3 separate regions of the Homo sapiens genome follow, and regions 1 and 2 are each linked to region 3. The links are contacts of gene promoters, found by promoter capture Hi-C in blood cells and fetal thymus (Javierre and others, 2016). All regions are on one chromosome and are shown on one strand. Each heading gives the region's core, a stretch centred on a gene start or on the middle of the fragment in contact. The rest is flanking DNA. Distances are from core to core; before and after follow the strand shown. Region 1 has its middle 35 kb from the start of LINC03004. Region 2 has its middle 14 kb from the start of LINC03004. Region 3 holds the start of PEX7 (peroxisomal biogenesis factor 7).

What was found. The method cuts DNA at HindIII sites, captures the fragments that hold promoters and counts their contacts. A CHiCAGO score of 5 or more calls a contact.
Region 1: a fragment that was not itself captured here is called in contact with the fragment with the promoter of PEX7 in region 3 in 1 of 17 cell types (M2 macrophages); the score reaches 5.4 in M2 macrophages.
Region 2: a fragment that was not itself captured here is called in contact with the fragment with the promoter of PEX7 in region 3 in 3 of 17 cell types (M2 macrophages, naive B cells and total B cells); the score reaches 5.5 in M2 macrophages.

The regions. Positions count from the first base shown.
Region 1 is chr6:137,629,058-137,631,936 of GRCh38, forward strand. No RefSeq gene overlaps it. Among named protein-coding and RNA genes, the nearest start is that of LINC03004, 35 kb to the right of the region's middle. The HindIII fragment of the contact is 2,496 bases long and covers 206-2,701 here.
Region 2 is chr6:137,650,136-137,653,034 of GRCh38, forward strand. No RefSeq gene overlaps it. Among named protein-coding and RNA genes, the nearest start is that of LINC03004, 14 kb to the right of the region's middle. RefSeq lists enhancers at 591-760, 2,810-2,899. The HindIII fragment of the contact is 1,065 bases long and covers 854-1,918 here.
Region 3 is chr6:136,821,342-136,824,098 of GRCh38, forward strand. It overlaps PEX7 (peroxisomal biogenesis factor 7), which reads left to right and starts at 1,251. Exons shown (of 10, transcript NM_000288.4): 1 at 1,251-1,454. The coding sequence starts at 1,325. RefSeq lists enhancers at 822-971, 855-1,587, 1,588-2,320, 1,702-1,861 and a silencer at 1,152-1,531. The HindIII fragment of the contact is 4,798 bases long and covers 1-2,757 here.

The DNA.
Region 1 (2,879 bases), core at 204-2,703, 810 kb after region 3:
TGTGTATATATATATATATACACACACACATATATACACACACACACACATATATATATATGGTCTGTGGCCTGTCAGTATGTGTGTATATATATATGTATGTGTATGTGTATATATATATATGTATGTGTATGTGTGTATATATATATATACACACACATATATACACACACACAGGCTTTATATGATAAGGCTTTATATACAAAGCTTCATTATTATTATACATATATACAGGTATCATTATACACGTATGTATGATTGTGTGTGTGTGTGTATATATATATATGTATAAAGCCTCATTATCAAGAGATATAGCAAGAACACTGGATATAATAAGACTGAGCTCACTAAAGCAAAAGGAGTCAACTGCTTAACTAGGCAAATTTTGAAAATTTCCTTCCAAATCAGTAAAAAGAGGCCCAAGACTCCATAACCAGAAATTCTGATGTTGTATTGCTTGCAACAATTAGAATAAGACGAGATCTCAAATGTATGCTACAGAGCAAGGGTCCTCAACCCCCGGGACCATGGATCCATACTGGTCTGTGGCCTGTCAGGAACAGGCCTCACAGCAAGAGGTGAGCCGTGGGTGGGTGAGCATTACCGCCTGTGCTCCACGCCTCCAGTCAGATCAGTGGGGCCATTGGATTCTCATAGGAGCATGAACCCTATTGTGAACGGCGGATCTAGGTTGCCGGCTACTTATAAGAATCTAGTGCCTGGCGATCTGAGGTGGGAACAGTTTCACCCCAAAACCATCCCCTCCCCAAACCCACTTCCACGGAAAAATTGTCTTCCACGATACTACTCCCTGGTGCCAAAAAGGTTGGGAGCCACTGCTATAGAGGGTTCTCCAAAAGACAGAAAATATTTGTATCAAAAAAAATGACTTTGCCCATGCAGGAGTAGAAAGTACTTAAAATATTGCCTCATTTTAATTCTGAAATCATTTGTTTGAGGTAGCACTTCTAGGCCTCATCTTTTTTTGCCAGAACAATGTCCAAAACCATCAGCGAGATTGAGCTAATGGGCCAGGTGCGGTACCTTATGCCTAGCACTTTGGGAGGCTGAGGCGGGCAGATCACTTGGGGTCAGGAGTTTGAGACCAGCCTGGCCAACATGGTGAAACCCTGTCTCTACCAAAATTACAAAAGCAAATGTATCCAGGCACGGCAGTGCACACCTGTAGTCCCAGCTACTCGGGAGGCTAGGCAGGAGAATCACTTGAACCCGGGAGGCAGAGGCTGCAGTGAGCTGAGACCGCACCACTGCACACCAGCCTGGGCAACAGAGCAAGGCTACATCTCAAAAAAAAAAATTGAGCTAATGAGTGTGAAAGTACTTTGCAAATTCCAAATTACTTTGTATAAGTTAGTTAGTCCTATTTCTCTTGTGCTTTGAGATTCTGACATCGTATCCTGTGGTTCATAATAACTAGATAGCTCTAGTAATTCAAAGCTACATAAAACGTGGTTATTAAGTGAAATCATTAGAAATGTGTCCAGAAAAAAATTGCATTTTCTGAAGGACAGAAAATACACGTATATCTCTCTTGGAGAGTTTCAAGTAAGGGCTGCCTTAGGGTCCCCTATTAATGAGGCCATCTCTGACCCCTTAGGTGTGGATGTTCAGTTGTTACAATGTTTCTAACACTACTCTATTAAAAAGGCCAAAAACTAACTGCACAACAGATGGGCAAGTGCCCATTATGGGCCTGCCCTGTCAGTGCACTCTGCTGCAGCTGTGGTTGGACTTGCTCCCTTGGCAATTCCTGGGCTCACAGTGGTCAGTGAAATACTTAGGCAGGACGTGGAAGGTCCTAAGGTGCTGTGACAATGCTCCAGCCTCTACTCTTGTGTCTGGATGTGAGAGGATATGGCATAGACAGCTGAAAGCCTCAGAAGACAGGTGGAGTCCAGGAAATTCCATTTGCAGCTATCTTTATCAGGGTGAGCTGCAATTGTTTGCTGTGATAGTGAGCTGAAAGCAACAGTTCTATCAGATTATTTTTTAGAGATGACTAAAGTACACTATAGAAAGGAAGTGCTCAAGATCTGTTTGCTGATGTATTGCTTGCTTCATAAAGCTACCTATTAAGAAAGACACAAAATAACGAAATAATAGCCTAAACAATGTTAAAATAGGAAGATAGAAATAGGACTTTCTCTTTCTCATTTCTAAAGTGTGTATAGAGTTCTCTTATTCTCTCTATAGCATTCAGATACCCACTGGGAAGAAAACAAAAACAAAACCAGAAACCATCATAGATATTTCACAATGAGAAAGTTTGTTACAGGGAATTGGTTTCACCAATAATGGGAAAGCTGAGAAGCCAAATAAGGAGCAGCGAGAAACAACCCAGTGCTTAGCAATACAATAGCAGCAAGCTGCTACCACCTTAGGGCTGGAAGGAAGCTGGAGTTGCAGGGTCTGATGAGCCAGAGCTGTACAGCAGGAGTTACCATAGTCAGTACTTCTGGCAGCAACTGGAGCCAGAAGTTTAATTTCCTTATATGGTAAAGCAGAGGTTGTATTGTGCGATTACCTTGACTAAGAACTATCCTCTGACAGAGTTTCCAGGTTACCTCTCTCTCTTTCTGGATGTTCTTGATAGAGACAGAATCCAGTTATATTTTCTCCACTTTGCTAGATGATGTTATGGCCATCTATCTTTTACAAATAAATGCTAGTTAATTATTTAAGCTTTAGCAGTAAGCCTGTTCTCAGATCTAATTAAACATAAGTGAAAAATAAAAGACACACAGGCATGTACTCTACAGTTTAAAGCATGAAACTTTCCCTTTTTCTGTTAGGGAAAAAGTCAATTCTCCTTGAAGTGTATGGTGGTCTACTGCAAGTTCACTTTCAGCTCTGCTCCC
Region 2 (2,899 bases), core at 136-2,635, 830 kb after region 3:
TATGTTATAATATATAGATATATATTATACCTATTATCTATCTCTCTACCTATGTGTGTTTACATATGCATATATACACGTGTATATATACACATATATAATTTAGTATATGTAATATATAGATTATATATTCTATCTATGTGTGTATACATAGGTATATATACATATATAACTTAGTACATATTCTAGTATAATATATAGATATATATTCTATCTACCTATCTAGGTGTGTATACATAAGTGTATATATACATGTGTATATATACACATATATAACAGTATATATAATTTATAGATTATATATTCTATCTATCTATCTATCTATCTATCTATCTATCTATCTATCTACCTGTCTATCTATCATCTCTGTCTCTCTCTCTCTATCCATCTATCTTTTAGCAGAATTTTGTCTCTGCAAAGTTCAGGATCAGCAATAGAGACCCTTAAGCTAACATGAAATATGTACAAGGCTGATGGCCACTTTACCCTGCAGGATGAGAGAGTGAAAAGGAGCTGGCCTTTTCAAAACGGCAGGAGAATAGCCTGAGGCTGGCTAATTTCGGCAATCAAGCTGGTGGCAGTTTATCTATAAACATGAGGCTATGAGGCCAGCATGCATGGGTTTTTTTTGTTGTTGTTGTTGTCAAAAAGATGCTTAAGGAAGAAAAGGGAGAAGGAGGAGGAGAAAGAAGTGAAAAAACAAACAATATTTACTAAAGCTGAACTTATGCATAGCCTATGACCTAGCAATTCTATTCCTAGGTGCTCACCCAACAGAAATAGGAACATGTGATCACCTAAAAAGAGGAGTATTTATTTATAGCAGTGCTATTTGTAATAGACCTGAACTGGAAGCTTCCCATTGACATTAATAGTGGAAGGAATAAAGTAATCAGAAATATTAATCAAATGGAATATGATCCAGCAATGAGAATAAACAATTTACTACTGTATGCAACAGATGGATAAATCTCACAATCATATTGTTGAAAAAAGAAGCAAGACACAAAAACATGTAAGCTGTCTGAGTCCATTTATACAAAGTTCAAAAGCAGATCAAACAAATCTGTGCTGGGAGAAGTCCAGGTGTGATACCCTACCTTGTTTTAACCTGATTGACTCTCTCTTATCTGAGAGAGCAGGACAGACTCCACTTTGGTTTCTTCGCTTGCAGCCCCTCGTTCCCCCTGCTTAAGGACATAACTGGTGCAAGCTAACTCCAAGTACATCCAGGAATTGCTTACTGATAAGATACTGAGGCAAGCTGTACTACCCACTCCTGGAAACGTGCTTGGTTGATGGTACCCAAAGCCCCTGCGTTTATCACTTTGTGATAGCTTAAGCCCCTGCACCTGGAACTTTTTATTTTCCTGTAACAGTTTCTGTAACCATTTATCTTTTACTTTTTGCCTGTTCTGCTTTTGTAAAAATTGCTTCAGCTAGACTCCCCCTCCCCTATTTAGACCAAGGTATAAAAAGAAATCTAGCCCCTTCTTCGGGGCTGAGAGAATTTTTGAGCTCTAGTCGTCTCTCGGTCCCCGGCAATAAAGGACTCCTGAATTAGTCTCAAAGTGTGGTGTTTCTCTATAACTCGCTCGGTTACAACACAGGTAGTGCTGACCTTTGTTGCGGGGGTGGGGAAGGTTTGAAAGAGCAGGTAGGGAGTTGCCAGGTACAGGTAATTGTCTATTGCTTAATCAGGTGATGGGTCAGTTGATTAAAATTTGTTGAGTGGTATGCAACGAATATGTGCAACTTTCTGCACTTCAATAAAAAAAAATTCTTAAATGAAAAAAAAAGGACACCTCAACTGAAGATGAGAATGTCTTAGCAGGCATTATCCCCTTGTCACTCCCTGAATCCATGGACAGCAGACCAGATTCTGGGGCCCAAAGTAGAAGGACAGGAACCTGAATGAAGCTTACTCCTTCTCTGGGTGATCACATAATGCCTTAGAAAACAAATGAAAAGGGAGACTGTCTGCATGCCACATGCAAAGTCCTGTAGGGGAGAATAGGCCAAGGATGATGTGGCGTGGTGTGGGATGGCAGAGAGATAGGGACAGGAATTCTGTGGGCAATGCTGGCACTGACTGACAGTGTGTTTTACCTAGAAGGGGCTTTGTTCATCATGCCATATGACCCTCTAACCTTATATTTGGAGAGCAGAAGCCACAATCTACTGAAATAATCTGCCTGAAGCTTTATATTTACTATCTCAAGTCTTTGTATTGATTGAAGACCTTTCAGTTATTTGGCCTACAAAGTGACTCACCAAGACAGCCAAGTATAAAGGGGTCCCCGGAGAAATTCCAACTGGCCTGTGCACTGTGAGGAGTGTGCACTGGGGCGGAGCCTCAGGAAGTTTGCGCCATTTGCAGGGGAGGAAGAGCCTGGCTGGCCTCTCCTGATCCAGTGTGATAACCTGGGGACTCAGTCTGTGAGATGGGGAGCCTCTCTCACTTTGCTGAGTTTTTTTCCTTTTCACCCAATAAAACACTACCCTCCTCACCCTTCAAACTGTCTGTGAGATTAATTTTTCTTGGTCATGTGGCAAGGACGCTGTCTTTAGCTCAACTAAGGAAAAAGTCCTACAACAGCTTTGGTGCCCAGAACATAGGGCTTGAGAAGGGGTGAGTGAAATGGGGACTCAAAACCTCTCACATTCGCTTCTGAGCCTTTTGGTCCTATGGCATTCCTCTTCTTTTTTTCAGGACATTAATGACATGAAAACTTTTTTTTTTTTTACAATACTGGAGGTGGTTCACACACACCCCAATGGCCACAGGCATGTGTATGGGACAGTTGGGTGGGGCAGCTCCCTGCTCCCCATTCTCTACTGTCTGGGGTGCATGGCTGAGTCTGCCGCATGTATGCACAGTGTCCAACAGCCATTAACA
Region 3 (2,757 bases), core at 1-2,500:
TAAGACTCTTCATGATCTAGCCCCAGTAAAACACTCTACAGTCTCCCCACCCAATATTTTTTTCACCGTATCCCTTCCATCTGGCCAGGCTGAGTCCTGGCAGCCACGACCCCCTATGGATCATGCTGGTTTAAATCTCCTGGGTTGCTCATGTTATTCCTGCTCCTACAAAGATCTCCATCTTCTTGTCTACCTAAAGAAAACCTACTCATCTGTGTGCAATCACCATAAAGACTTATCTCTCTTCTGCAGCCTTTCCTGCAATTTCCATACCTCTGGCACGGACAATCACCTTTTAAAAATACCCCATATAAATTTATCATAGCCTCTACAGTATTTTGATTACACTTAACTAATTACATGACTTCTCTTTTAGTCTTCTTCTCTAATCTCTTGAGGCCATGGACCATATCCCATTATTTTGAATCCCAAATGCCTAGTACTGTTCTTGGTATATGGTTAAGATGATCATACGACTTGGTTTGTGCCTGTTGACCTGGCTTAATAATTACACCCTCTTTACTCTCAAAAGTATCTTGGTTTGGCAGATAAATTATATTTGGTCATTCTCCACATAGTATATGCCTGGCAATAAATGAATGAATGAGCACCAGCATCTGAGCACTTATTACCATACAATATATACATGTATAGTAATACTTTTTAAAAAAGTTGTATATGATGATGTGCTGCTTTTTTGCTTAGCTTCATTAGAACTGGCCAGCTCCTTTTTCTCACTTGCCAAGCATGGGGAGTTGGTTTGGAGTTGGTGTTTCATCTTTTCCAGTTACAGTGTGAAAGTAGCCCACCAGCCCACGCTCTTATTCCTAAAGACCGCAGTGACTCCACGGACTTAAGTTCTCATTGCTTCCAGTTTCCTTGGGCAACGCAGCACGCAATTTTGGACGCGCTGCGTGGTTTCAGAGTCGGCTGTAACTTTTCTCACTTTATAATCATCAGGAAAAGTTCCTGATGCCAGTCTTCCAAACGCTCAATGAAATAAAAACCAGATAGCACCGCAGAGGAGGCTGAGATGCAACGACAAAAGCTGTCGTAATTATTAATAATACCTAACCCTGGATCACTCCCCTGATAGATCTGTATCTTTGCAGCAGGCGCAATTCAGTTTGGATTCACCCAAAACAAAAATGGTCTCCGTCGGAGTCAACGCCCTTTCCTGTGCGGACCAATCAGAATCTCAAACACAGGGCACGGGGCCCACACTTCCGTCCGGTCTGCCTGGTCTCTCTAACCGCGCCAGTGTGCCTCCGACTCGGAACGGCTTCCGCGGCCGGGGCAGCGAGGGCCGGGGGCGGCGGGCGGGATGAGTGCGGTGTGCGGTGGAGCGGCGCGGATGCTGCGGACGCCGGGACGCCACGGCTACGCCGCCGAGTTCTCCCCGTACCTGCCGGGCCGCCTGGCCTGCGCCACCGCGCAGCACTACGGCATCGCGGGTGAGGCGGCGCCGCGCAGCTGGGGCCGGGGGGCGGAGGCGGAGGCGGGGGCCAGCCGGGCTCCAGTTCCTCGCGCTCGAGGGAAAGCCCCTCTGAGCGTAGACGGTTCCGCGGGTCCACGCCAGGGGGCAGAAGAGGCGCTGGTCGGCGCTTCTCCTTTCTTTGCCGAGTGCGAGGAGTTGGTCTGAAGCAGGAGTCGATCTTCCAGTTGTGTGCAAGTGCATATACGTGTAGCCTAGTAGCCCGTGTCCTTGTTCCTTGAGACCGCGCTGCCTCCGCCACGTGTCACACGCCCAGGCACACGTCCCCGTAGGGAGAGCCGGGGGAGCCTGCGCGGTCCCTTGGATCGGTCCGCTCGGCACAGCAGTACGGGGAAGACGGTCTGAGCCAGAACCGACCCAGGGCTCGCGAGTTGGCCCACAATTCCCAGTCTGCATTCGAGCACTGAGCTGCGACCTGCGGGCTGGCCTTCCTAAGGACGATGCTCCTGAATGGACGCCTGGAGTCCCACGGGTGACACCATGAAATATATCAAGTTCAGTTCTTACCTGTAGTTGTCTAACGAGGAATGCACACATTCGCAAGTAGGTGTTACAGACTCCAGTTAATTGTCTCCCGTCGCGCGCATTGGCTCAGCCTGTGGTTAAAGCTGCTCAGGAGGCTGAGGCGGGAGGATCGCTTGAGCCCGGGATGTTGAGGCTACAATGAGCTGAGATCACATCACTCTGCCCCAGCCCAGTGAGCTGAGATCACATCACTCCACTCCAGCCTGGGTGACAGACTGAGACCCCGTCTTAAAAAGAAAAAAGGCCAAGCGCCGTGCGGTGGCTCACGTCTGTAATCCCAGCACTTTGGGAGGCCGAGGTGGGCGGATCACTTGAGTTCGGGAGTTCCAGACCAGCCTGACCAACATGGAGAAACCCCATCTCTACTGAAAATACAAAATTAGCCGGGCGTGGTGGCGCATGCCTGTAATCCCAGCTACTCGGGAGGCTGAGGTAAGAGAATAGTTTGAACCCAGGAGGCAGAGGTTGCGGTGAGCCGAGATCGTGCCATTGCACTCCAGCCTGGGCAAGAAGAGCAAAACTCCGTCTCAAAAAAAAGAGTCCATCTAGTCCGTGGACTAGATGAAAAGGCGTAGGTTCATTCTCGCTTTTGCCTTAATTCATGTCCTAGCTATTATACGCACTGAAGCGAGATGCAAAAACTCATTTCATAATGTCAGTGGTCTATTGTATTTTTTTGTTTTGTCCTACAGCAGAAAAAAATGTTACTTCTAAAACTCAGAGAAATACTTGATTTA